Regions from separate parts of the Homo sapiens genome. Here regions 1 and 2 are each linked to region 3. The links are contacts of gene promoters, found by promoter capture Hi-C in human tissues and cell types (Jung and others, 2019). All regions are on one chromosome and are shown on one strand. Each heading gives the region's core, a stretch centred on a gene start or on the middle of the fragment in contact. The rest is flanking DNA. Distances are from core to core; before and after follow the strand shown.

Region 1 (2,700 bases), core at 106-2,605, 62 kb before region 3:
ACGTATTAGATGTTTCTTGCCGTAAGACAGGTTTAAAATTGGAAAAAGCTTTTCTTGAAGTCAACAGACCCCAAATCCATAAGTTAGATCCAAGTTGGAAGGAGCGCAAAGTGACACCCTCGAAGTATTCTTCCTTGATTTACTTCGACTCCAGTGCAACATATAATCTTGATGAGGAAAATAGATTTAGGACATTAAAATGGTTAATTTCTCCTGTAAAAATAGTTTCCAGACCAACAATACGACAGGGCCATGGAGAGAACCGTCAGAGGGAGATTGAAATCCGATTTGATCAGCTTCATCGGGAATATTGCCTGAGTCCCAGGAACCAGCCTCGCCGGATGTGCCTCCCGGACTCCTGGGCCATGAACATGTACAGAGGGGGTCCTGCGAGTCCTGGTGGCCTTCAGGGCTTAGAAACCCGCAGGCTGAGTTTACCTTCCAGCAAAGCAAAAGCAAAAAGTTTAAGTGAGGCTTTTGAAAACCTAGGCAAAAGATCTCTGGAAGCAGGTAGGTGCCTGCCCAAGAGCGATTCATCTTCATCACTTCCAAAGACCAACCCCACACACAGCGCAACTCGCCCGCAGCAGACATCTGACCTTCACGTTCAGGGAAATAGTTCTGGAATATTTAGAAAGTCAGTGTCACCCAGCAAAACTCTTTCAGTCCCAGATAAAGAAGTGCCAGGCCACGGAAGGAATCGTTACGATGAAATTAAAGAAGAATTTGACAAGCTTCATCAAAAGTATTGCCTCAAATCTCCTGGGCAGATGACAGTGCCTTTATGTATTGGAGTGTCTACAGATAAAGCAAGTATGGAAGTTCGATATCAAACAGAAGGCTTCTTAGGAAAATTAAATCCAGACCCTCACTTCCAGGGTTTCCAGAAGTTGCCATCATCACCCCTGGGGTGCAGAAAAAGTCTACTGGGCTCAACTGCAATTGAGGCTCCTTCATCTACATGTGTTGCTCGTGCCATCACGAGGGATGGCACGAGGGACCATCAGTTCCCTGCAAAAAGACCCAGGCTATCAGAACCCCAGGGCTCCGGACGCCAGGGCAATTCCCTGGGTGCCTCAGATGGGGTGGACAACACCGTCAGACCGGGAGACCAGGGCAGCTCTTCACAGCCCAACTCAGAAGAGAGGTAGGTGTGTTTCTGTTGGTTGAATGTGGTTTATGTGAGTGACTGCTCTTTGGACAGAGGCTTTTTATGGTAGGAATCTTTGCGCCACGTTTAGTGAATCTCAGCCGAATTCTTACATACGTGATCATTTTCTGAGCTTTCTCCCAAATGCTTTTCCTTCCTGTAAAGTCAGCGTCTCTATCAAGAATGTGTCCCTGTGTAAGATGCATCGAGGTAAAGCAGAAAGTGCTCTTGCAGAAGTTTCACACTTTCCATTAGAATGCATTCAGAGGCTTTTTTCCTGCAAATCCTCACTTACTACGCTTTATTCGTCTTTGTCAAACCTTCATTTCTAACCTCTTCATCTGACACTCAGAAAATAGCTGTTGTAAGGCGAAAGTGATCTAAAGCGAATGACTTCCTATTTCTGGATTCCTGGTAGGGAAAGAGCAAGAGTGGCCTGGGAGAGCCACGAGCACAGTATTCTCACAGGTGCGAGGGGTGCCCTGCAGATATCTCAGTGCTCAGTGTTAAAACTTCTGCACCTTGTTCTGCAGCTTAATTTGTGCGAATCATGTCAGCTAGAGTTTTAGTCTGCGTGTGCCCTTTTCTCTAGAGACAGTGGGGTGGGGTGGGTCAGTGGGAGTGAGTACCTTTGTTGGCATTAAAGGTTGGATTCCCCAGCACAGCTTCTCTGTGTGTCCACAGTCAGGATCTGGAGGATGCGACTTTCTTAACCCACAGGTGGACGGGACTTGACTGTGGGTTTGATTTGGCCGGTTCCTTTGGGTTTTGTGTGTTTGTGGTTCCAGCAGGTGAGGCCGTGTCTCCAGTATCCTCTTCCCTTGTGCCCTAGCCTGGCGATGTGCCTCTTCTCTGAGGTCATTTGGGTGGACCCTGCCTGCCATAAGTGTCCCATTTTCTGTTTCTCCCACCTGGACCCGCCTGGCCTGCGAGCCCTTCTCAGCCACTGGCTCCTGCCGTGCGTCCAGCTCAGAACCAAGGTCTGGTATGCCTTGTTCCTTCTGTGGTGCCTGCCTTCGAAGCCTGCAGTCCCGCCTGTGCATGGCAGAGACCACACTCTCAGACCGCCAGCGGCCTCCTGTGGCTTGAGCCCCCTGGGGCCTTTCTCACTGTCACTCTGTCTTCCCAATGCCCTTGGACTGCTCAGGGCCACCTGCTCCAGGGTCTGCCGTAGGACAGCCCTTCCCTTCCAGGGAACTTTCACTGGCATTCTCCCCCTACTCCCCAGTTCTTTGCTATTGCATCCTCGGACATCCTCCCTAGACTCCACCCACCGCTCAGCTGCCTGCTCCGTGCAGGTAACCCCCACCCTCCCAGGGGCTGCACATGGTGGGTGCTGCAGTGGGGAGCTGTCTGGACACAGACCAGTCTCATGGGTTAGCGGCTCAGGCTCCTTGGCTCAGTTCTAGAAGCTCCCAGGTTTTGTTGGATGTTTTGGTTTTCAAAGTTATTTTCGTGTATAAAGTCATACTGTGTGAGCTAACCAGAAGCAGATGAAACAAGCCTTGGTTGTCATCTGTCTTCCCAGTTGAGGATGGACATACGTAAGT
Region 2 (2,700 bases), core at 32-2,531, 39 kb after region 3:
AAGACGCAGCTGAGACTGGGTAATTTATAAAAGAAAGAGGTTTAATTGACTCACAGTTCCACATGACTGGGGAGGCCTCAGGAAACTTACAATCATGACAGAAGGTGAGAGATAAGCAAAGGCATGTCTCACATGGCAGCAGGCGAGAGACAGAGAGGAAAAGCTTGTGAGTAAAGGAGAAAGAGTCCCTTATAAAACCATCAGCTCTCATGAGAACTCACTTAGTATGACAAGAACAGCATGGGGAAAACTGCCGATATGATTCAATCAGCTCCCACCAGGTACCAACCTTAACACATGGGGATTATGGAAATTACAATATGAGATGAGATTTGGGTGGAAACACACAGTCAAATCATATCATTCTGCCCTCTGGCCCATCCCAAATCTCATGTCTTTTCACATTTAAAAACCAATCATGCCTTCCCAACTGTCCTCCAAAGTCTTAACTCATTTCAGCACTAGCTCAAAAGTCCATAGTCCAAGGTCTCATCTGAGACAAGTCAAGTCCCTTCCCCCATGAGCCTGTAAAATCAAAAACAAGTTAGTAACTTCCAAGACACAATGGGGGTACAGAAATTGGGTAAATGTTCCCATTTCAAATGGGAGAAACTGGCCAAAACAAAGGGGCTATAGGCCCCATGCAAGTCCAAAACCAGGCAGGGCAGTCATTAAATCTTAAAGCTCCAAAATAATCTCCCTTGACTTCATGTCTCACATCTAGATCAAGGTGATGCCAGAAATGGGCTCCCACGGTCTCAGGCAGCTCCAACCCTGTGGCTTTGCAGGGTAAAGCCCTCGTCCTGGCTGCTTTCAGAGGGTGGCATTGATGTCTGTGGCTCTTCCAGGCACACAGTGCAAGCTATTGGATCTGCCCTTCTGGGTTCTGAAGGACTGTGGCCTTCTTCTCACAACTCCACTAGGCAGTGCCCCAGTGGAGACTCTGTGTGGGGGCTCCAACCTCACATTTCTTTACCACCCTTCTCTAGCAGAGGTTCTCTATAAGGACTCTATCCATGCAGCAAACGTCTGCCTGGACATCCAAGCATTTCCTTACATCCTCTAAAATTTATGTGGAGGTTCCCAAACCTAAATTCTTATCTTCTGTGTACCCGCAGGCCCAACACCACATCGATGCTGCCAAGGCTTGAGGTTTGCACCCTCTGAAGCAATGGCCTGAGCTCTACCTTGGCCCCTTTTAGCCATGGCTGGAGCCACTGGGACACAGGGCACCAAGTCCTGAGGCTGCACACAGCAGTGGGGGCCTGGACCCAGCCTAAAACACCATTTTTCCTTCCTAGGCCTCCAGGCCTGTGATGGGAGGGTCTGCTGCAAAGGTCTCTGACATGCCCTGGAGCCATTTTCCCCATTGTCTTGGTGATTAACATTTGGTTCCTCCTTATTTATTCAAATTTCTTTAGCTAGTATTTCTGCATCTGGCTTGAATTTCTCCCCATAAAATGGGTTTTTCTTTTCTACCACATGGTCAGGCTGCAAATTTTCCAAACTTTTATGCTCTGCTTCCCTTTTAAACATAAGTTCCAATTTCAGATCATCTCTCTCAAGTTCGTAGTTCCAAAGAGCTCTAGGGCAGGGGCAAAAATGCCACGAGTTTCTTTGCTAAAGCTTAGCAAGAGTGACCTTTGCTCCAGTTCTCAACAGATTCCTCATCTCTATCTGAGACTCAGCCTGGACTTCATTGTCCACAACATTATCAGCATTTTGGTCAAAACCGTTCAACAAGTCTCCAGGAAGTTCCAAACTTTCCCACATCTTCCTGTCTTCTGAGCTCTCCAAACTGTTCCAGCCTCTGCCTGTTACCCAGTTCCAAGTCACTTCCACATTTTCAAGTAGTTTTATAGCAGTACCCCACTCTCCATGACACCAATTTACTGTATTAGTCCATTCACACACTGCTATAAAGACATACCCAAGACTGGGTAATTTATAAAGGAAAGAGCTTTAATTGACTCCAGTTCCATGTGGCTGGAGGGGCCTCAGGAAACTTATAATCCTGGCAGAAAGTGAGAGAGAGGCAAAGACACGTCTTACATGAAAGAGAGAAAGAGGAATAGCTTGCAAGTGAAGGGATAAGGGCCCCTTATAAAACCATCAGATCTCATAAGAACTCACTCACTATGATGAGATTAGGAGGTGGGGACCTCCCACCATGTCCTGTCCTCAACACGTGGGGATTATGGGGATTACAATTCAAGATGAGATTTGGTGGGGGACACAGAGCCAAACCATATTAAATCTAGTGTGACCTCATGTTGGGAAACAGTCAATGGACTCACTACTAAATACACTAGCCTGTTCTTTACCACACTCGAAAATTAGCTTTGTTAATGTGGAATTCTTAAGGGGCATAGCAAGAGTGACCTGTGCCACAGTTCCCAATTTGTTCTGCTCCACTGAGATGATAGTGAAGATTTGAGCCAATGTAGTTAACTCTAGAGAATATGTTCACATTGAAAAACTGGAAGAGAAAAGGAAAAAAAAAGGAGGTGTTGGAGAGGAGAACGGAAGCTTCAGCACCAATGGCCAAATAGGAACAGCTCCGATCTGCAGCTCCCAGCATGATCGACGCAGAAGATGGATGATTTCTGCATTTCCAACTGAGGTACCTGGTTCATCTCATTGGGACTGGTTGGATAGTGGGTGCATCCCACTGAGGGCAAGCCGAAGCAGGGCAGGGCG
Region 3 (2,700 bases), core at 88-2,587:
GAAAACAAACGCCACCCAGGTGCAGTGTGGAAATGACCATGACAGGAGGTGCCCTTGTGTCCCTGGCCTTGCCTCCACCTGCGCAGCTCCAGCTTCATGTGTGGTATGATGTCCACTGTGCAGATGGAGAAAGGGAGACCTAGGCTGGGGCTGCAGTCAAAGAGTTAGTGTCTGAGATGGGGCAGGAAAGCAGAAATGTGGATGACATTCTTACCACTGTCATGTAATTCAAGAGGCCCCAGGTCGTCTCTTTCCTCTGACACCTCCTCACTTGAGGCTACTGCTGCTTCTGTAATGGCTTCAGTCATCTCTTCCTCAAGCTCTTTTGAGATCAACAGAATTTGTAAAATACGGGGTGTGACACACACCTTAAGATGACCCCAACGACCCACACCCTTCCATAAAGCCATCCCCTTGAGGGTGTGTGGGTGGAACCTGTGACTTCCTTCTAATCAACAGAATATGGCAAAGGTGATGGGTGACCCTCTCTCGAGTGGATTACATCATATGGCAAAGATGGTGGGATGTCATTCCCATGATCACACTATGCCACATGAGATTCCCTCTTATCAGATTGAACAGAAACATTCTACTGGCCTTGAAAAGTAAACAGCCATGATGCAAACTGCCTGTGGTGAGGGCCACGTAGCAAGGAACTGAGGGCCTCAGTCCTACAACCATAAGAAACTGAATTCTCCAATAAGCACATGAGCTTGGAAGAGGAAGCTGAACTCCAGAAAGGACTGCAGTCTCTGAGACCCTAAACAAAGGACCAAGGAAAGCCATGCCTAGACTCCTGGCCAGTGGAACCGTGAGATAATCAATGGATGTTCTTTTAAGCCACTGAGTTTATGATAATTTGTTACACAGCAATAGATAATATCCTTAGTTTAATAGAGCCCTCTCGCCCTCTCTTCTACACACTGATAATTAATGGCTAATGAGAAATTCATATCAGTATCTCTCATAACTCCTTTAAGGGGTTCTCTCAACATCCACAGCTTCTTAAAAATTGAGAAACACCAACATAGATGTCGAGATGGTGGAAGAAAGGCTCTCAGATCCTTTCTCCTCCTGTCCCAAGTTCCTTGATCCTCAAAGATCCATCCCATGGCCCTTTACTATCCCATACTCTCTTTTCCTTTAAAGGATTTTAAAGAGCTACTCTGGGACCTAAATACTGACCTTTCCTTAGGGTCTTCTTCTGGATTAAACAGATATTAACCACAAGAAAAAGCTCTGCTCTTGGCCCAATACACATCAATGGAAATGCAAATGGAAGAATTGGTTATCAAAGTGAGACAGCTGGGCTCTTCAGTCATATTTCTTATAGGAATGGGTCTCCTGGAAGGGTGGGAGGGTTTCACTAGAACTATCACCGTTAGATCCCAGACCCTCGGAACTTTGAGATCCAACTGCCTCCCTGAGTCTCTATCAACCCAGGTCTTTGAAGAGTGCACAGGGCTCTGGGGTGAAAACTCCACATCATGTTGTCATTCAACATTTCTGTTATTCACATGTGTGTGCTGAAGTACAGGGGCCTGTTTGGGAAAGGGAGATGGTAGAAGTGGGGATGGCTTACAACCAAGTCCCAGGGGAACACAGTCATGTGAGCCCTGGGTGGGGAGGTGTGGTCAGGACAGTTGGAGAGGAGAGGAGGGGCAGACTGAGAGGCCCTGGGGAGAGCACTCCTCCTTCCCGGGGACTGGATGACTTGCAGGATAAGAAATTGGATTTCCACTAGCACAATACTTACAAGATAAAGAACATCAAAGACAGGTAGGAGAGGAGGCACCCTGATTTCCTAAACCAAAAGTGGAGCCCAAAGGATTTCCCTGTCATTTATAGCTAGGAGAGATGATCCAGATCATAGGTACAACAATGAAATATTGGCCTTTGGGAAATCTTTCTATGCACTGCAAGACAACAGGAACAAAACTCAGAGACATCTAGGGCCAAGGTTGCTTAAGTGGAATTTCCACTCCAAGTTTGCCCATCCAGCCAAATGGGAGTTCCTCAGCCTGTGCTTGGACACCTCCAATACGAGGGAGCTCATTACTCTCAGGACCAGCCTCTTTCTACTTCATGGAATTCAGATGGTTAGAAAATGAGCTTTCTTATCATGCCCAACATTTCTTCCTCATAAAATTCCTGCGTTATTCCTTGTTCTGCACTTGGAGATACATTGATCAACATGAAATAGACACAAGCAGCTATCCCATGCCCCTTCTTTCACAGGACTGCCCCTCTGCACTACCTCCTCCCACTCCCCACTGAGCCTTCTTTTCCGTTTGAAAGATCACTGAGGTGATGTGGTTGCCAAGTCCATTCCACAGGCCCAGACTGCACGCCTACTGTGTGCAGCTAAGCATGGCTTTCCATGCTGCAGTGGATATAGGGTAGGTGGAACACATCTCTGTCCTCTGAAGGTCTTCAGACTCAACACATGAAAAGTGATACATTTAGAGCCAGAAGTGAATGTGTCAGCAATTGCTGTGTAACAAACCACCTCAAAACTTAATGACTGAAAACAACCGATTATTATAGTTCACAAGTGTATGAGTCACCTGCGTGGGTCTGTGGATCTGTGCTCTGTCCAGCCAAGCACAACTAGAGTCTCACCCATGTATCTCAGACAGCTAGAGGGCTGGCCATTGGCTCGCTATTGGCTGAAATGACTAGGGTGATGGGGACATTGTG

Evidence for each region. The method cuts DNA at HindIII sites, captures the fragments that hold promoters and counts their contacts. A contact is called where the count stands out against the background at its distance.
Region 1: a fragment that was not itself captured here is called in contact with the fragment with the promoter of MROH2A in region 3 in 1 of the 25 tissues and cell types used here (pancreas).
Region 2: a fragment that was not itself captured here is called in contact with the fragment with the promoter of MROH2A in region 3 in 2 of the 25 tissues and cell types used here (mesendoderm cells and thymus).

What each region holds. Positions count from the first base shown.
Region 1 is chr2:233,839,056-233,841,755 of GRCh38, reverse strand. It overlaps HJURP (Holliday junction recognition protein), which reads left to right. Exons shown (of 9, transcript NM_018410.5): 8 at 1-1,147. Among named protein-coding and RNA genes, the nearest start is that of HJURP, 14 kb to the left of the region's middle. The HindIII fragment of the contact is 5,245 bases long and covers 1-2,700 here.
Region 2 is chr2:233,737,525-233,740,224 of GRCh38, reverse strand. All of the region lies in intron 1 of UGT1A8 (UDP glucuronosyltransferase family 1 member A8), which reads right to left. All of the region lies in intron 1 of UGT1A10 (UDP glucuronosyltransferase family 1 member A10), which reads right to left. All of the region lies in intron 1 of UGT1A9 (UDP glucuronosyltransferase family 1 member A9), which reads right to left. All of the region lies in intron 1 of UGT1A7 (UDP glucuronosyltransferase family 1 member A7), which reads right to left. It also overlaps UGT1A6, UGT1A5, UGT1A4, UGT1A3 and UGT1A. Among named protein-coding and RNA genes, the nearest start is that of UGT1A3, 9.8 kb to the right of the region's middle. The HindIII fragment of the contact is 3,282 bases long and covers 1-2,700 here.
Region 3 is chr2:233,776,967-233,779,666 of GRCh38, reverse strand. MROH2A (maestro heat like repeat family member 2A) reads right to left here and starts at 1,337. Exons shown (of 42, transcript NM_001394639.1): 1 at 1,186-1,337; 2 at 215-322. The coding sequence starts at 308. The HindIII fragment of the contact is 23,317 bases long and covers 1-2,700 here.